Linked DNA regions of Homo sapiens: region 1 is linked to region 2. The links are contacts of gene promoters, found by promoter capture Hi-C in blood cells and fetal thymus (Javierre and others, 2016). All regions are on one chromosome and are shown on one strand. Each heading gives the region's core, a stretch centred on a gene start or on the middle of the fragment in contact. The rest is flanking DNA. Distances are from core to core; before and after follow the strand shown.

The links. Contacts are between HindIII fragments. The CHiCAGO score rates a contact against its expected background, and 5 or more counts as called.
Region 1: a contact is called between a fragment that was not itself captured here and the fragment with the promoter of ZNF556 in region 2, in 1 of 17 cell types (M2 macrophages). The highest score is 5.5, in M2 macrophages.

Annotation. Positions count from the first base shown.
Region 1 is chr19:2,436,545-2,440,515 of GRCh38, reverse strand. LMNB2 (lamin B2) reads left to right here. Exons shown (of 12, transcript NM_032737.4): 3 at 1,985-2,141; 4 at 2,228-2,353. Among named protein-coding and RNA genes, the nearest start is that of MIR7108, 3.5 kb to the right of the region's middle. The HindIII fragment of the contact is 1,574 bases long and covers 1,484-3,057 here.
Region 2 is chr19:2,865,398-2,869,511 of GRCh38, reverse strand. It overlaps ZNF556 (zinc finger protein 556), which reads right to left and starts at 2,177. Exons shown (of 4, transcript NM_024967.3): 1 at 2,088-2,177. The coding sequence starts at 2,090. The HindIII fragment of the contact is 3,420 bases long and covers 1-2,811 here.

The sequences.
Region 1 (3,971 bases), core at 1,021-3,520, 430 kb after region 2:
CAATAGATAGATATAGCTATCTGTAAGGCTGGGTGCGGTGGCTCATGCCTGTAATCCCAGCACTTTGGGAGGCCAAGGCGGACAGATCACTTGAGGATGGGAGTTCAAGACCAGGCTAACCAACATGGAGAAACCCCGTCTCTACTAAAAATACAAAATTATCTGGGCGTGCTGGCACTTGCCTGTAATCTCAGCTACTTGGGAGGCTGAGGGAGGAGAATCGCTTGAACCCGGGAGGTGGAGGTTGCAGTGAACCGAGATCGCACCATTGCACTCCAGCCTGGGCAACAAGAGCGAAACTCCATCTCAAAAAAAAAAAAAAAGATACAGCCATCTGTAGAATTGATATATACGGACATAGATTATATAGATAAATACAGTTATTGATGGAGATATACTTAGACAGACATACGGTCACTTTCAGCTATGGGTCACTTTCATTTCTTGGGCAAATGCCTAGGTGGTCTTTTGAAAGGCCCTGGGGGACCAGGCGCAGTGGTTCACGCCTGTAATCCCAGCACTTTGGAGGCCGAGGCGGGCAGATCACCTGAGGTTGGGAGTTCGAGACCAGCCTGGCCAACATGGAGAAACCCCATCTCTACTAAAAATAAAAAATTAGCGGACGCTGGTGGCGCATGCCTGTAATCCCAGCTACACAGGAGGCTGAGGCAGGAGAATTGTTTGAACCCGGGAGGCGGAGGTTGCAGTGAGCCGAGATCACGCCATTGCAATCCAGCCTGGGCAACAAGAGCGAAACTCCAACTCAAAAAAAAAAAAAGGCTCTAGGGAGAGTCGGGAGTGCATTCTGCTGGGCAGGAGAGGTCCCTGTCACTTCTGACCTCTGGCCACGGGCTCGAGCCGCCTGGATGTGGATGTTCTTTGAATGTCCAGCCAGCAGCCTTGGCTGTGTTATTCCAGATACACCCAGTTGTCCCCATCCTGGGGTGATTCTGTCCCCAGGGGACACTGGGTGATTCCTGGGGACACTTGTGGTTGTCAAAACTGGGCAGCAAGAAGCTCCTGGTCTGAAGTGGGTGGAGGCCAGGGACAGTGCTCAGCACCCTGCAGTGCCTAGGACCACCCCAAATGTCAGCAGTTGTGACGCTGCGGAACCCTGGATGTCCTCACTCGACCACCCCAAATGTCAGCAGTTGTGACGCTGCAGAACCCTGGGTGCCCTCACTCAAGACCACCCCAGATGTCAGCAGTTGTGACGCTGCGGAACCCTGGGTGTCCTCACTGTTTCTTGGGAGGATATAGTTAGTTCCCTGTCGGGAGGGGGTAAAATTCAGCTCCAAGACTTATAATTATGCTTAAAAACATTTAAGAGTCAGCCGTACGCGGTGGCTCGCACCTGTAATCCCAGCACTTTGGGAGGCTGAGACAGGAGGATTCCTTGAGCCCAGGAGTTCGAGACCAGCCTGTGCAAACAAGTGAACCCCTGTCTCTTAAAAAAAAAAAAAAAAAAAAAAAAAAAAAAGCTTAAGTGCCTACAATCCACACTGGTAGTATTTGTGTGTTTAAAAAGCCTGAGTATTTGCTATCTTAAATATCTAATGTTGGAGCTAATTTGGTTTAGTGGAAAACCAGGTGAGCCTGCTTCAGACAGCTTAAGTTTACAAACAAGGCTGACCCTTCAAAGGCCAGGGTCTTTGTAACATTTACAGAGGATGCATTAATTTCTCCCCAAATGGTCGTCCTGGGTCCAGAACAGGCAGGAGAGGCTGGGAAAGCCCATGCCTCCAGGGTGGTCCCAAGCGCTGGTGCCTGTCACTTGCTGGACTCCTGACAGTGCAGGGCAGATGATGAGGGCACGTGTGCCTTTGCCTGGGCGCGTGGGGCCGCGTCGTCTGCAGGACGGGAAGGTCTGGGGCTCGGAGGCCTCGGTGACCTTGTCTTTGGGCTTGCCTGACGCCCCCTGAGGTGCTCCCTGTGGCCCCATGGACCTTGCCCCTCCCCACTCACTTGCCCTCTTGACTTTCAGCGCCAAGAAGAGGGAGGGCGAGCTTACGGTGGCCCAGGGCCGTGTGAAGGACCTGGAGTCCCTGTTCCACCGGAGCGAGGTGGAGCTGGCAGCTGCCCTCAGCGACAAGCGCGGCCTGGAGAGTGACGTGGCTGAGCTGCGGGCCCAGCTGGCCAAGGTAGGTGCCAGGAGCCACGGGACGCCCCAGCAGGGTATATGCAACAGACAGATTGTCACACCAGCTCGCTGTCCTGTGTCTCCCAGGCCGAGGACGGTCATGCAGTGGCCAAAAAGCAGCTGGAGAAGGAGACGCTGATGCGTGTGGACCTGGAGAACCGCTGCCAGAGCCTGCAGGAGGAGCTGGACTTCCGGAAGAGTGTGTTCGAGGAGGTGAGTGAGTGGCCTGGCCTCCAGCCTGGCACAGCGGAAACGCAAAGTCCACCCTCATGGCTGTGGAGGGCGGAAGCCTGAGGGCACCGTGTGGCCGGGGTCCCTCCCACGGCTCTAGGGAGGCTCCTTCCTGCCTCTTAGGGTGCCCTTGGCTTCGGCTGCGTCTCCCCAGTGTCTGCCTCTGTCTTCCCGCGGCTGCCTCCCCTGTGTCCATACTCTGTGTATCCTACAAGGACACTTGTCATTGGATTTGGGGCCTGCCTGGATCATCCAGAGTGACCTAATGGCATCTGCAGAGACCCCATTTCCAAATAAGGTCCATTCACAGCTGCTGGGGATCGGGATGTGGGCACGTCTTTTTTTGAGATGGAGTTTCACTCTGTCACCCATGCTGGAGTGCGGTGGCACGATCTTGGCTCACTGCAACCTCCGCCTCCCAGGTTCAAGCAATTCTCCTGCCTCAGCCTCCCGAGTAGCTGGATTATAGGCGTGCACCACCATGCCCAGGTAATTTATGTATTTTTAGTAGAGACGAGGTTTCACCACGTTGGCCAGGCTGGTCTCGAACTCCTGACCTCAGGTGCTTCATCCGCCTCGGCCTCCCAAACTGCTGGGATTCCAGGCGTGAGTCACCATGCCCAGCCAAAACATATCTCTTCAGTGTCAAGGAAGGTCTATTTTGATTTCTTGCCTTTCTAAAAGCTTGGTGTTCCCACCCTGAGAGCTGAACCCTGGCCGCCTGGGATCCTAACTGCTAGACCATGAGGCAGGCGTCAGGTGCATCTTCTGGGTGCCACCGTCCAGCCTCCCACAGGGCCTCCTTGTCCAAAGCGAGGGTGAGGCCCGCTCTCCCCACCCAGCCTCCTTCCCTGACCTGCAGCCCCTCACCTGGGGCCTCTGCCTCCGGGGGCTCGGAGAGGGGAGTGGGGAGGAAAGGCGTCAGCCTGTGTCCTTTAGAACCAATTGTGCTGTCACAGTGCAGGGTGGAATGCCGGGGCCGGCCGGGCCCACACTCCCTGCCCAGGGAGAGCTGCTGGCTGCTGGTGGAGGGATGTCCAGGCCGCTCAGGAGCTGCGCCCCGCTCTGGCCAGGCCCAGGGAGTGGGGGGGGCCCCACAGGAGCCAGAGGGGAGGCCGCCAGGGCAGTTGTGAAGGGGCCTGTGGGGAAACCTGTGAGACAGCCCGTGAAGAGACTCACGAGAGCTTCTGTGCGGGGGCCCAGGAACGTGCCCCAGGTGGAACCCACAGGGCACCTGGGAAAAGACCCACGAAGGCGGTGCAGGGGCCGGGAAGAGGCCCTGGAGGGGCCCTCACAGGGAGCTGCGGTAGGGAGCTTGATGATGCAGGCCTGTGCAGCCCACAGGGTGCGGAGTCCTGGAGAGGGCGGCCGTGGGGGCGGAAGGGCGGCCGTGGAGGTGGGTGCGCGGCTGTGGTGGCGGGAGGGCGGCCGTGGAGGTGGGTGCGCGGCCGTGGTGGCGGGAGGGTGGCCGTGGAGGCGAGAGGGCGGCCGTGGAGGTGGGTGCGCGGCTGTGGGGGTGGGAGGGCGGCAGTGCAGGTGGGTGAGCGGCCGTGGAGGTGGGTGCGCAGCCGTGAAGGCGGGAGGGCGGCTGTGCAGGCGG
Region 2 (4,114 bases), core at 928-3,427:
ACCTGTAGTCCCAGCTACCCAGGAGGCTGAGGCAGGAGAATGGCATGAACCCGGGAGGCGGAGCTTGCAGTGAGCTGAGATCGCGCCACTGCACTCCAGCGTCGGTGACAGAGCAAGACTCCGTCTCAAAAAATAAAAAATTTAAAAAAAGAGGAGATATAAAATTTCCTCATGGGCTCAAGGTGGGGCAAGACAGAGCAGGAAGAATCAAGGAAGACTAATTATTTCACACAGGAAAGCTGGAATAATGGAGTTACCAGCAACTGAGATGTAGGCGGTAATATGTGGACCAGGCTCTTGGGGAGAGGATGAGGATATACTGCAGTGCAGCTGAGAATAAGGCATTCAAGTGGACACACATGTAATAATGTCTTTAGGGGCACTGGTCACAATGGAAAAAATTTGAAAATACCCGAATAGTCACTAGCAAGCAGTGGAATTAATGAACACTAACAATATATCCCTATGAGTGAATATAAAAGAGTGATAAAGGGGCCAGGTGTGGTGGCTCACGCCTGTAATCCCAGCACTTTGGGAGGCTGAGGTGGGTGGATCAGCTGAGGTCAGGAGTTCGAGACCAGCCTGGCCAACATGGTGGAACCCCGTCTCTACTAAAAATACAAAAATTAGCTGGGTGTGGCCACACGTGCCTGTAATCCCAGCTATTCGGGAGGCTGAGGTAGGAGAATCGCTTGAACCCAGGAGGCGGAGGTTGCAGTAAGCAGAGATCGCGCCATTGCACTCCAGCCTGGGTGACAGAGCGAGGCTCCATCTGAAAAAAAAAAAAAAATTAGCTAGTCATGGTGGCACATGCTGCCTGTAATCCAAGCATTCTGGGAGGCCAAGGCGGGTGGATCACCTGAGGTCAGGAGTTGGAGACCAGCTTGGCCAACATGGTAAAACCCTGTCTCCACTAAAAATACAAAAATTAGCTGGACGTGGTGGCACACACCTGTAGTCCCAGCTGCTGGGGAGGCTGAGGCAGGAGAATCAATCGCTTGAACTCAGGAGGCGGAGGTTGCAGTGAGCCGAGATCGCGCCACTGCACTCCAGCCTGGGTGACAGAGCAAGACTCCGTTTCAAAAAATAAAAACAAAAAATAAAAGAACAGAATTATCATCTATCACAAATTCTCCATCCTGGAAAAGGAGAATAACTGATATTTTAGCGAGTTTTTGTAATTCACCAAATTATATACCAAACATTTTTTTCTTGTAGGAATGTATTCATTTCGGGGCGTGTCATAATAAAAGAGAGATTTTCTCTCTTTCTCTGCGATTCTTTTTCCCGGGAGCCCCGTCAAGGGCTAAGCCCTGGAATCCCATTTGTCATCACCGAAAATAAAACAACAGATGTGAGAAACTTAACCACACGGGCAAAAAAGGAACAGAAAATAAAAAGAAAAAAAAAAGGCACGCTAGAATTTTTAACAAATGGAATGTAAGACGAGAACTTTATTTTTTTCTGAAATTCACCTCCTTGGAAATATTTTATCTTTCAAACTCTATTATTTACTGTATGTTCCATTGACTGAAAAAATCTGAGGCTCAAGTAACCAAATCAATCTTTAGAAGGAGAGAGGCCCAGGCAGGGGCGGCTGGGCTGGAGTCCGGCCTGCGGGCCTTTGGGGTCAGGCCAGCCCGTGCCGCCACGTGGAGCGCCCGCACCACCTGTCCACCCCTCGCCCCTCCCAGGGACGTGGGCCTGGGCCCAAAGTCTGCATCCAAAGCGCATTCTGCTTTGGGGCTGTTGCACCGCCTCGCTGGGGTGAGGTTTTTTTTTTTTTTGTTTTGTTTTTTGTACTTTGGGTTAGTTTTTCTTCCAATTAACTTCGCGAGACCCCACAGGGCAGGAGTCATTTCTGCCTTTTTTTCCCCTCCATCCCAGCGTCCTGACAACTACGACTTTCCAGGGAATGAAGACTGGGGCAGGGGAGGAAACTCCCCGCAGGACCCGGGGGTGACACAGGGACAGAGGCTGCATGGGGGTTCCGGGCGGCTCCCCCGGGAGTTTCAGCGTGTTCTGGCCGCTTCCAACCCTCCCCTCCCAGGGCTCCGGCTCCGGCTCGGCTCCTGCCCTGCACTCACCATGTCCTGTCCGTTCCTGAGCTCTTTGAGGAGCTCCCTGCTCCTCGCAGCCGGTGCAGGTGAGCACGACGGGGACACCTGTGGTCACTCAGGGCAGGCCGGGTGTGCTCTGCAGGGAGGACAGCAACGCCCCGCCCCTGGGGCTGTGATTGGATGGTTCTCTTCTCTGCTCATCTCTGATTGGAGAGTTCACCAGTCACATCCCAACTCCCCTGATTGGACAGTTCTTTAGACTCTGCCCCTCCTCTTCTGGTTGGTCAGCTTGCTATCCCCTGAGCTCCCCTGATTGGGCAGTTCTTCAGGCCCCACCCCAGCTTTCCTAATTGGTCATGTTTCCACGCCCTGCCTCAGCTCCTTTGATTTGACAGGTCTCCAGGCTCTGCCCCAACCCCCCTGATTGACAGTTCTCATCCGGATGCTCCACCTCAACTCCCCTGATTGGTCAGTTCTCTAGGCCCCACCCCAGCTGCCTGATTGGTCAGTTTTCAGGTCTCGGGTCCTGCAGGCAGCAGCCCCCATCCACGGTGGTCTCCTTCCTGAAATGAAAGTGGTACTGACTTAGAGGGAAACCTGGGCCCTTGGGGTATCCACCGTAGAAAAAAGCAGCTTCTTCTGTCCTCAGTCTGTTGTCAGATTCCATGACACTGGAGGAGGTCCCCTCTCTCTCCTGACCAGTAGACACCTGGGGAGGCCCATGGGGTCAAGTGAGTGACCAACGAAAGCTTTACCATTCCCTAACTAGGGTCAGCACAATTGCTAGAACTGAACTCTTGAGCCATTAGCAATGGTCTAGCCAGCCGGGCGCGGTGGCTCATGCCTGTAATCACAGCACTTTGGGAGGCCAAGGTGGGTGGATCACCTGAGGTCAGGAGTTTGAGACCAGTGTGGCCAACATGATGAAACCCTGTCTTTACTAAAAATACAAAAAATTAGCCGGGTGTGGTGGTGGGTGCCTGTAATCCCAGCTACTCGGAGGCTAAGGGGGAAGAATCGCTTGAACCTGGAAGGCGGAGGTTGCAGTGAGCTGAGATTGCCCCACTGCACTCAGCCTAGGCAACAAGAGGGAAACTCCGTCTCAAAAACAACAACAACAACAAAAACATAGAAAACAAAACAAAACAAAAAAACCGAAAACACACTTAAAAAAAACTGTGGCAACAACTGTATCCTAGGTCAATATTTTGAGGTTAAAGCACTCTGGGGATATTTTGCCTCACAGTTTCTCAAGTAAAAATCAAGGTCACGAATATCTGTGTACCTATGAAAACTCAAACACCACAGCTGAGCGCTCAATGTGCAGGCAGATGAATAGTCTACAGGCAAATGACATATAATCAAGGAGGCATAATCCCTGGAAGCCTGTTGGTAGGGCTGAGAGCAAATAGATTTTATAGGGTCCCCGCCCACCTTTGCAGAGGCTATTCCGTATACTGTGATCACGGAAGCCACTTAAATGCAAATATTCCTTACCAATCCCACCAGACGTTCTCCTGCTGAGCCACAATACAGGGTTTCACCAAGACCCGCCCTTCCCTTGGGGTTACAGATGCTACTGACAGTGATCAAGGTGCTCAGTTCTTTTCTCAAACGACACTGTAGCGAGATTGATAAGGAATCAGAGAGACCGATGGGGTTCAGGAGGATATTTATTATTTAGCTGCACCAGCCCAGTCCGATTAACACCCAAAGGACTGAGCCCTGAACAAAGAGTTAAGTTACCTTTGAAGCATTTTGTGGGGCCGGGGGAGATCTGTGCAGGGGGAAGCATATTACAGAAGCGAGAGACAAAGAGAGTTATTCAATTAATTGAGACGTGCATTACATCATTTCTTACTTTTCAAGGCAAAACATGTTTTGCAACTTGAGTTTATCTGTCTAGTGAACTTGCAGCTGCACAACTAGGGAAACAGGGCCTTCACAATGCCTGGGAAGGGAGGAGAGATAAGGCTCACTAGCCACAGAAAAACAGGCAGTTAATTTTTAAAAGACTCCAGCTCTTTCTTGTTCTCAGGGGGAATTGGGTTTTC